Regions from separate parts of the Homo sapiens genome. Here region 1 is linked to region 2. The links are contacts of gene promoters, found by promoter capture Hi-C in blood cells and fetal thymus (Javierre and others, 2016). All regions are on one chromosome and are shown on one strand. Each heading gives the region's core, a stretch centred on a gene start or on the middle of the fragment in contact. The rest is flanking DNA. Distances are from core to core; before and after follow the strand shown. Region 1 holds the start of RALGAPB (Ral GTPase activating protein non-catalytic subunit beta). Region 2 holds the start of PPP1R16B (protein phosphatase 1 regulatory subunit 16B).

Region 1 (4,662 bases), core at 1,906-4,405, 330 kb before region 2:
ATTTAGAGAACCACTCACTTGCATCTCTCCTCCACCAACTTGCACCTAATATTAAATCTTGTCTTTCTGTCCAGAGCAGTAAGTCTTACTGCCTTACATGTTATGTAAAAACCATATTTTAAGCAAAATTATTTGTTTGTATAATTTTCTGTTGCATCAATATATTTTTTCTGTTAAAAATATTTAGGTGCCTTAGGCTGGAATTGAACACAATTTTGCCCATTTTAATTAATGGGAAAAATTTAACAGCTTTCCACTTAGAAGCAGAATTTCAGGAATGAATTGAAACCACTAGAAGGGTGATAGCTGTATTTTCATCATCTCCCCAAGGGCTTTGGGACAGCTTTCCCATCCTCTGTGCCTGTCACTTTTCCAATTCCCATCACCCGTTGTTCTTCCAGTTAGTCACCCCTCCCTTGTCTGTTACAGGGGTTCAGTATTAATTGTGTTAGAATGCATCTGGTTGCAAGTAACATAAAACTCAACAAACTCTGGTATATATAAGATCCCTCATCCCGATAAGACAGGAAGGTAGTACAGGGTTTGTGTAGCTGCTTGAGTATGACTTAAACAAACAGGCTCCTGTCTTTCTGCTCCACCTTCCTCAGCACAGCCCTCCTCATGGCCTCTAGGCTGCTGTGCTCCCAGGTGTTACCCAGTTCCAAGCATGAAGCAGGGGAAAAGTGAAGGACACAAACTTCTCCAAGGGAAGAAGGAAGGGAAGGTCTCCTTTGATACTTCTGCCTACATCTCAGTGGCCAGGACTTTGTCTCACTGCCACCCTTAGCAGCAAAGAAAGTTGAGAGTTGTGTGCTTTGCTTTTCAGCCCCTGTAGTATAGAAAGGCAAGGGAGTGGTTGAAATAGATCTTGAGTTAGCCAACTACATAATTTGTCACACTGTGTTTAATTGAAATGTATTGCTTGGATCCAGTGTCCTGGACATAGCCTCGTTCCTGTCCTAGCACATTCTTACCCTCCTTTTCCCTCTTCCTTCCTGTAGCTATTTTTCTGGGGGGTGAGGTGTGGTCTTGAGGAAACACTCTTCAGTTTTACCCTTTCTGTGAGGATACTAGTTCCCTTATCACTCATTCCTCCATAGTCTCTTCTAACTGAGGTGAGGAGTCAGAATCTTCTTTGCTCCCTTCTGCTTTTCAGACAACCGTGCCTTCACCTCTACTCAACACCCTGACCCCTCCTCCCTCTCTCAATACCCAAGGTCAGTCTCAAGGCCAGGTCCTCCGTGAAGAATTCCACCATCCCTCCCTCCTCTTCTTTCTCAGTCCAAGTTTCCTCCTTTAGATTCTCAAAGCACTTAAGCTGTACCTCTCCAATGGTATTATTTTCTTCGTTGAAGTGAAAGCAAATTATTGAAAGTGGTACTGTTTACAAAATGTCTAGCGCATGGCAGGTGCTCGAAGTAGTATCTCTTAGTATTATTACTACTGTCTTATCTCGATCAGATTCAGCTCTTTAATGAGAGGCTCTAAATCTTATGTTCGATTCACCTTTGTAACCCACACCGGGCCTGGAATAGAGCACTGTTCATAATTAATGCTGTGCCCGTGTAATAAGACGGCGGCGAGCAAAGGGCATCATTTCAGAGGAAGAGTGCTGTAATGGTGGGATGGGAGAAATTCCTAGAACCTAGGTGGGAGCCAGAATCTTGCAGAGAAGCCCCTTATCCGTCTGCACCGAAAGCAGGTAGAGTGGATGCCGTAAGATTCCTAAGGACGCAGGTAGAGCGCCTCCTCTGTGCCGCGATGAGGTAGGTGCATCCGTCACTTCACTCCTCCCTCTCCACTTGATCCGGAATGGGAGGAACGCAATGCGTCCCGCGCGGCGATCTGGGATAGCTGCGCAGGCGCAGCTTCCGGCTCTGTGTCTCGGGAATTATTTGACGCCACCGGTTCAGCCCCGTAGAAAGCTCTGATTAGGCGCACCGCGCACGCGCAGTGGCCCACTTGGCTGGGGAGTTATTTGACGCCGCCGCCCCTGGCAGTCGGAAGTTGCCTGAGCAGATCCCAGCCGGCTGGCTCGAGTGGCCTTCGTCGTCCCTTGGCGCCCTGGGAGAGTCGCTGACGGGTGGACTGACGGACCGCCTGAGGACGGCCGGCCAGGGCGGTGAAAGCGCCAGCCCTATGGCGCGGGTCGCGTGAGGCGGAAGGCCGAGGACGGCCGGCGGCGGCGCCCGCCCCGGCGATGCGGGCCCCGCCCGTCGCCTCAGGTAACCGGGCAGCCGGCCCCGCCGCGGCCGGACCCTCCCCTCTCCTTCCCTCTCTTCCCCACCTGGCGGTCAAGGGACGGCTGAGGCTTGTTTCTCGGCTCTGGGTGCTCCAGGGGCCCGGCCTTTGGAAGCTCATCTGCAAATTTTTGGGAGACCCACGGGGGCGGGGAAAGCTTGGCCCTGGAGTGGGCGGCTGCTGTCGAGTCTGTGTAAACCCGGTCTAATCCTTGGGAGCTACCCCGGCCAGGCGAAGCTCTCTCCTGGCAACCTGGGGGAGGGGGCGGGTCTGGAGCGGAGCTAGACAACTCCCGCAAAGAATTTGGTCCAGCAGAAAGGTTAGGCAAGTTGCTGCCGCCCAGTGGGGACGATGCTGCCCATTGCACAGTGACACTTTGATGAGGGAGAGTTGATGATGGGAGTAAACAGCTAACCCCCATTAAGCGCTTCTTATCCGCCAGGCATCATGCCAGGCCATTACGTTCTCCACGTCTAACTTCACAGCAACCCTGTGAGGTAGGATTGTTGTCCCCATTTTACTGACGAGGCAACTGAGTCCCTGGGTGGTTGGGTGACTTAATTACCCAAGGTCACATAGCTAGTAATTTGAACCGGAGCATCCGACCCAAGTGCTTAACAATTAGGGCAGTGGCTCTCCAACTTTGCTACACTGTAGAATCACCTGGGGGAAATTGTAAAGGTTTCTGATGCCCATGTGGCATCCCAGACCAAAACAATCAGAATGTCTGGAGTTGAAAGCCAGACTTCAATATTTTTTTTTTAAAGATGCCCAAGTGATTCCAGCTTGCAGCAAAGTTTGGGAACCGCATGTAATTTGATAATTCTGCATCTCAAAAAGCATCTCTCTTTCTCCAGCTTAAGTGTGCAGGAGAATTGTCTGGGAGCTTGTTAAACTTGCAGGTTCCACCCGCAGAGATCTTTAGGTTGACTGACCACTACACCTTGTGAAAGACTGTTAGGGATGGAATTCTCTGCAGGGATTCTGAGTCATCTGGAACATTTAAAATGTATGCATCTTATGCAAACTGCTCGTTTGCAATTTTCCTAAATATACAGTACTTATAGGTGTAGCGTCTGTAACCTCTGGGTCGTTTTTACATATGCTGGAAGTCTGCCTAGACCATCCTCTGAACGTTCTGGCCATCCCACCCAAACGCACACACTTCTGCTCTCTCCTATATGCATATACACACCCTTTTCTTTTCTTTCTTTCTTTTTTTTAGACAGAGTCTTGCTCTGTTGCCCAGGCTGGAATGCAGTGGCATGATCTTGGCTCACTGCAACTTCCGCCTCCTGAGCTCAAGCAGTCCTCCCACCTCAGCCTCTCAAGTAGCTGGGACTACCACGCTTGGCTAATTTTTGAATTTTTTTTGTAGAGATGGGGTTTCTCCATGTTGCCCAGGCTGGTCTCAAACTCCTGGGCTGAAGCAGTCCACCCACTATGGTCTGCCATAGTGGTGGGATTACAGATGCGAGCCACTGTGCCAGGCCTACATACCCTTTTCTTCCTGTCTCTGGCTGCATTAGCTTTAAGCATTCCCTTCAAGATACCTCTGTCCCTGACCCCTACCCACCTTGAGTCCTTCCAATTTGCTCTTTAGGAACATCGTAGTGAAACTTATCAGTTATTTTTCTGAGTTGTAGTTCTATCCCTACTTCTAGATTATGAGAAGCTTTAGGGCAGGGACTATGTTTTCTTCATCTCTGTATTCCTTCCAGTGCTTTGACATACAGACTCACAAAGCTTTTACTCAGTGGAATGTTTGGGTCCTTTTATGTCATAGATAGATCATGTTGCGAACAGATTCTTCTCTATTTCCATTTTTGTAAAAGATGTTTGGTAGTTCCCAGCTTATAGAGTTTTGTTCTTTTTGCTTAGGAGTGAGTATTCTAGTTATGTTCAGCAATTTGTCCAGCAGTTGAACACACACATTGAGTTCTTACCAATTGCAAGGCACTCTGTAACTAACCATGTGCAATCAACATTGTTTGATTTTTAATGTCTGATTCTATCACAATCGGACGCAATCATGTCTGTAGGGAAAGTCTTTTTATTACTGTTAGACCTTTGCATGTGTTCCCTACTTCATTGTCCAAAAAAGTGTTTAGTTGTCATCCACTAAATGCCACTGCCTTGTTGGTATTTGGTAAATACAAGCAGATGGGATTGCCATTGGTAATGTTTGGTCCTGTTCACCAGGAGAGAGGACGTTAAGTACTTAATGAAGAGTAAAATCATGTTGTCACAGGAATTGACAAATTTAGCACATATTTATTGCAGAATGCCTGAACTGCCATTGCCCCATTTGCCATATTTACAAGTTTAAAGGAAGGCAGACCAATAATTCAGATTGGATTTGTTCTTGGTTGGTCTTAAAACCATGTAAGGATTTGCAAAAGTTAGTGAATATGTGTGTGA
Region 2 (5,319 bases), core at 1,620-4,119:
CAGGAGGCTGAGGCAGGAGAATCGCTTGAACCTGGGAGGTGGAGGTTGCAGTAAGCCAAGATCGTGCCACTGCACTCCACCCTGGGCAGCAGAGTGAAACTCTATGTCAAAAAAACAAAACAAAACAAACCCCCAGAAATTTATTCCTCACAATTCTGAAGGCTACAATTCTGAGATCAAGGTGTTGGCAGGTCTGGTCCCCCAGCCCTGAGTCCTCTCTCCTTGGTTTGTAATTAACCTTCTTCTCCCTGTGCCTTCCTCTGGTCTTTCCTCTGTGTGGCGCATCTCTAGTGTCTCTTCTTATGAGGACACCAGTCATTGGATGAGGGCCCCATCCAAGGGCCTCAGTTTAAGATGATCACCTCTTTAAAGACCTTATCTCCATCCACAGTTACATTCTGAGGTTCTGAGACTGTAACCAGTACAGTTCAGCATATGAATGGGGGTGAGGGGGCACACAATTCAGCTTATAACAGTTATTTTTTCACTCTCTTTTTGTTCTTTTTATGTTTAATTTTTTTTTTTTTTTTTTTTTAGAGACAGGGTCTTGCTCTGTCACCCAGGCGGGAGTACAGTAGCACCATCATAGCTCACTGCAGCCTTGAACTCCTAGGCAAAAGCAATCCTCTTAAATAGCTAGGACTACAATCATGAACCACTACGTCTGCCTAATTTTAAAAGAATTTGTAGAGACAGAGTTTCACTATGTTGCCCTGGCTGGTCTTGAGCTCCTGGCCTCAAGTAATCCTCCTATCTCCACCTCCCAAAATGCTGGGATTATAGGTGTGAGCCACCAGGCCCAGCCATAACTTTTCACTTTCTTGATGATACCCCTGAAAGCACAAAAGTTTTTAATTTATCTATTTTTTTTTCTTTTGTTGCTTGTGCTAATATCTAAGCAACTACTGTTTAATCCAAAGTCATGAAGATTTAGGCTTATGTTTTCTTCAGAGAGTTTTATAGTTTTAGCTCTTACATTTAGATCTATATGTTGCATATAGTATGAAGCAGGGATCCAAATTCATTCTTTTGCATGTGGATATCCAGTTGTCCCAGCACCATTTTTTGAAAACACTATTCTTTCCCCATTAAATTGTCTTGGCACTCTTGTTGAAAATCAATTGGCAGTAAGTGTAAGGGCTTCTGTCTGGACTCTCAGTTTTATTCCATTGGTCTGTATGCCCATCCTTATACCCGTACCACCCTGCCTTGATGACTGAAGTTTCCTAGTAAGTTTTGAAATCAGGACTTGTGAGTCCCCCAACTTATTCTGAATTTACTTTAACTTTTGATACCGAACACAGTGTGAGAGGTGAATGAACAGCATGACATTGGAGTTGGGAGCCCCCTCCCTCCAAAGGCCTTATTTTAGGAACACAGGCCCCAAGTGCCACACAAGCCTTGGAGAGATGGGTTCCCATCCTCTCAGCCCATGGCTCTTCATTATCAATCAATGGAAACATTCTTCGGAGAACAATGATTCCCTTGGGTTATTTTAAACATGGCTTTAAGTCTTCCCCACATGCTCTACTGTCTAATTGCTTTTCCTGAAACAGTGTCATTCACAACTGGATTATTAATGAACTGAGAGGGAGCCAGGGAGCCAATGAAGGGGGCTTACAGAGTTCCTGGAGAGGGCCTGGGGGCCTGGAACAAGTTCAACCCACAGATTTTCTCTCCCCCAAGAAAGGTGACTGAGCAAACAGAAAATCACTAAACTCAGGTGATGCTGGTGGCCTCAAAAGAATATTGCCAGTGAAAAAAAAAGGATTCGGGCGAGTTCCTCAAACATGACAGCTGAGAATCAAATTAACTGGGTACCATCCCCAAACTCCCCAAACTTAAACTCTGAATTTCCCCAGCTGGCTGGCCCTGGGGTGCCTAGGGCTCTCATCTGTAGGCCGGGAAAGCTCAGGAAACAAGGCCTTTGTGGAGAAGAGAAACCTATTGTTCTAAGGCCAGGGTTCAGCAAATGTGGATTCCAGAGAATGTTTGGGGAGGTTTTCTCTGCTTTGTTTATGAACTTTCTTTTCTCTTCCTGGGGTGGTGATGGTGGGGGGTGACTCTCAGCAACTTAAATAGTTAAACCCATTGTGTTGTAAAGAAAGGCTGGTGCACAGAGTGCAGAGGCCTTCAGCCCCAGAAAGAGGCTTGAATGAGGTGACAGAAGCCACCGGGTATGTTTTGCTTTTTATTTTTAGCGTTAAATCTCAGGGAAGCAGCCCCTATCTTCATCCTGCACATCTCAAAGGGCGTCAGACGTCAGCAGAGGTACGACCACTTCCTTCCTCCAGCGCTTCACCTCCCTTCTTTCCAGAAAGAGGAAATGATGCGAGTCCACACCGCAGGCCACAGCCCCCATGTCTCGGCCCCAGCAGCTGGGGGACCTGGCCCCACAGATCTGTCCCCAGCGCAAGGCCAGGGCCGGCCCCTGGACCTCCTGGGAAGCCTTCAGACTCAGGCCGCGCAGGCCTTCAAGCTAGGAACCCTGAGTTCCTGGCCCTGGCATTCATTCTGTGTGACCTTGAGCAGGTTACCACTCCTCTCTGGGCTTCAGGATTCCCGTCTGTCAAATGGGAGCAGGGATACCGTCCTTGGCTTCCCTCTTTCCATGGTCGGGGTGGGGGTTAGGAAAACTATTTTGGAGGAGGGGGCAGCGTTAGGAAAACTATTCCGAAGCCTGGCCACGTCCCAACCGGTTTCAACTTCCTGCAGCTCAGAAGAGGGGTCCCCACCCGAGAGCGCCGGGACCCTGTCCCGCGCTGCCTCCCAAGCCGGATGGGGTTGAGCGCGCCCACCCCAGTCCCAGGAGCTCAGGCCCCGCCTTGGGGGAGGAGCCGAGAGGCGGCGCGGAGGCTCGCGGCCGAGCAGAGCCAGCTCTGTCGCCGCTGGAGCAGCTGCGGCTCGGGGACCCACAGACACAGCCGGGGTCGGGAGCCGCCCGGGGCAGGGCTCGGGAGAGCGGGTGAGTTCCCCGGCGGCGCCACCACCCTCCTTGCGCTCTGCGGCTTCGCAGGGCGGGGGATGAGGATGGGGCGGGGAGGTGGTCCCAGCCTGCTATCACCTAGCTGGGGGCCGGGGCGCTTTGGCCAAGGGACGATAGCTTGAGATAAATGGGAGTGTGGGGACTCTGGAAAGACGGGTACCGAGAGCGCTAGGTCCGGGAGTCGGGCTGGAATGGGGGCGTTCTCCCCGGCCTCGCAATTCCTTGACGAGGCCAGGGGAGGGGGCGCATTGGCAGGTTGTTGGCTGCGGCCGTCGTAGACCGATCTTGGGGCGGGGAGGTGGGGTCCTCGGTCTGTTCTGGACTCATGGGGCCGCCGTCTGCCGGGGGTGCAATGCCGGGCGGCGGGAGCCACAGCGGACACCAAACAACCCCCCCCCGCGCACTCTCCCGGCCGGGCATGGTGGTGCCGCCCCCTCGCGTGGCGGGGCTTGGTCCTGGCGGGCAGCGGCAGGGCGCAGAGAGCGCTCCTGCCCGGGCGGGAAAGATCCCCAAGGCAGGCGCCTCCACCTGCAGACCCGCCCCGCCTCAGGATCCGGCTGACAGCACCAGCCAGCCCGGGGAGACCCCGCGAGTGGTAGTTCCCCGGGAGGGGCGCGCCCGGCCTCTCCCAGGGCCCCGTGCGCCGGCGGCTGGGTCCCCCGCGCCAGGAGCGCTCCCCTCTGGGCGACTCCGGCTCATCGATTCCGGCCCAGAGGAGCGCCCCCGGGCGCCGAGGATGGGCGGAGACGTGCAGCCGCCCCTGAGAGGTCGCCCAGAGGGGTCTCCCCAAGGTCACCCGGAGTGCCCAGGCTGAGCTGCCCAGACCGCCCCGGGTGGAGAGCCGGGAGGCAGGCGCTCGCTGCCCTCCTCCTTCCCCCATGTAGACTCCCTTCCTCCGCTCCCCCACCCCGGCCCGGCCTCCAGCTTCACTGGAGATGCTGATGATGCAGCTCCCAGCCCTTGGAGGATAATTGAGCCTGGGAGAGCTTTGAATCTGGCCCTCCTGAGACCCCAGGGCTGCGCCGCTGCCGCGCGCCAGGCCTGGGTCCCGGTGCTCCCGGGCACCTCAGGAGCGGAGGGAGAGGGATGTGGCTTCATCAGCGCTTCTAGGAACCGAAAACCGAGCTGCCTGCGCGCCCATGTGATTGCATTTCACATAAAGGGCCCCTGTTTTCACTGTCAGAAGAGCCCCCCAGCTCTCCGCGGCTCTGGACACCAGGTGCCGCCTCTGAATCACCCTCTGTGGAGGACCCGGGGCCCGGAGGTACAGGCGCCCTTTCCCGCAGGGCTCTCCCTGGAAAGGGCCTGCCGATGGCGGCCTCAGTCCGCAGGGGTACTTCCCTGTGTACCCTGCCATTTCCTGCGGCTGGTGAAGCACCGGAGAAAAACCGTCCATCTAGGAGGCCTCCTCCAAGGCTGGTAATAAAGCTTCTTAGCCCAGCCAGCGACTAGCTGTCTACTCGTGGGCAAGGTACTTGGCTTCTGGAGTCTCAACTGCCTCTAAGATACGGGGCTAACAGCCGCCAGGCTGTGGGGAGATGAGGGAGAGGCTGGGTGCAGCAGAGCGGGAGGATGAACACTCCTTGGCCAATACTGGCCGCCCTCGGGATTGGCTTTGAGTGGGGCGTGTCTCTCTTAGACAGGTGCAGAAGTGGAGCCCTGGTGGGTGGTTCTGCAGGGGCTGGGGGAGTTTCCACATCTTCCTCCCCCAGCTCTGTCATAAAAAGCCAGCTTGCAGGAGGCCGGTGGGGGCCAGCAAATCCTTCCAGCCGGCTGCCTGCTCACACGGCCCTTCCCACACAAATCTCCCATGCCCTTCTCTCCCACCTGTCACCCAAATCCCATCTTCCTGGCTGAGTCCCCAGGATGCTGGGGGCAAGATGTCAACCAGGCCACCCTGGACTGTCAACTCTGTGCCTACTTGTCTACTGGGGTCTACCTAACAGTGTTCCCCTGTCCTGGAACCTTCCTGGCTCCAGCTCTTCCCAGCCTCTGTAATGTCTTCTTTCCCCTCTTTTGGTCTCCTACCACCGTGACACTCATTAGTGGCTCTGTGGTTCATGTGTCAAGGGCCCCGTGCCATCTGTGCTCTCCAGATCATCCATGGCCTAGAAAGACACGGTAGGCAAGGCCCTGTGCCCACTCAGACTTTGCTCTCCCTGGTAATTGACGGAGTGGAGGTTAAATTCTAATCTAGCTGTTAAGTCATTTCAGGAGCTTGAGCCACAGGGCTAAGAGGATACTGATGTAGGCAGGTGGTTTTTCCTTAAAGCCAGAACCTTTCTCCTTTCTGCAGAGCCCATTTGAGCCCTTTGGAAACTAGGCCTATGTGT

The links. Contacts are between HindIII fragments. The CHiCAGO score rates a contact against its expected background, and 5 or more counts as called.
Region 1: a fragment that was not itself captured here is called in contact with the fragment with the promoter of PPP1R16B in region 2 in 1 of 17 cell types (total CD4 T cells); the score reaches 5.0 in total CD4 T cells.

What each region holds. Positions count from the first base shown.
Region 1 is chr20:38,470,845-38,475,506 of GRCh38, forward strand. It overlaps RALGAPB (Ral GTPase activating protein non-catalytic subunit beta), which reads left to right and starts at 1,999. Exons shown (of 30, transcript NM_020336.4): 1 at 1,999-2,225. RefSeq lists an enhancer at 1,720-1,789 and a silencer at 2,080-2,279. The HindIII fragment of the contact is 1,518 bases long and covers 2,397-3,914 here.
Region 2 is chr20:38,802,828-38,808,146 of GRCh38, forward strand. PPP1R16B (protein phosphatase 1 regulatory subunit 16B) reads left to right here and starts at 2,870. Exons shown (of 11, transcript NM_015568.4): 1 at 2,870-2,965. RefSeq lists enhancers at 1,183-2,045, 2,046-2,907, 2,190-2,459, 3,488-4,326 and silencers at 2,720-3,099, 3,290-3,509, 3,570-3,919. The HindIII fragment of the contact is 16,329 bases long and covers 1-4,412 here.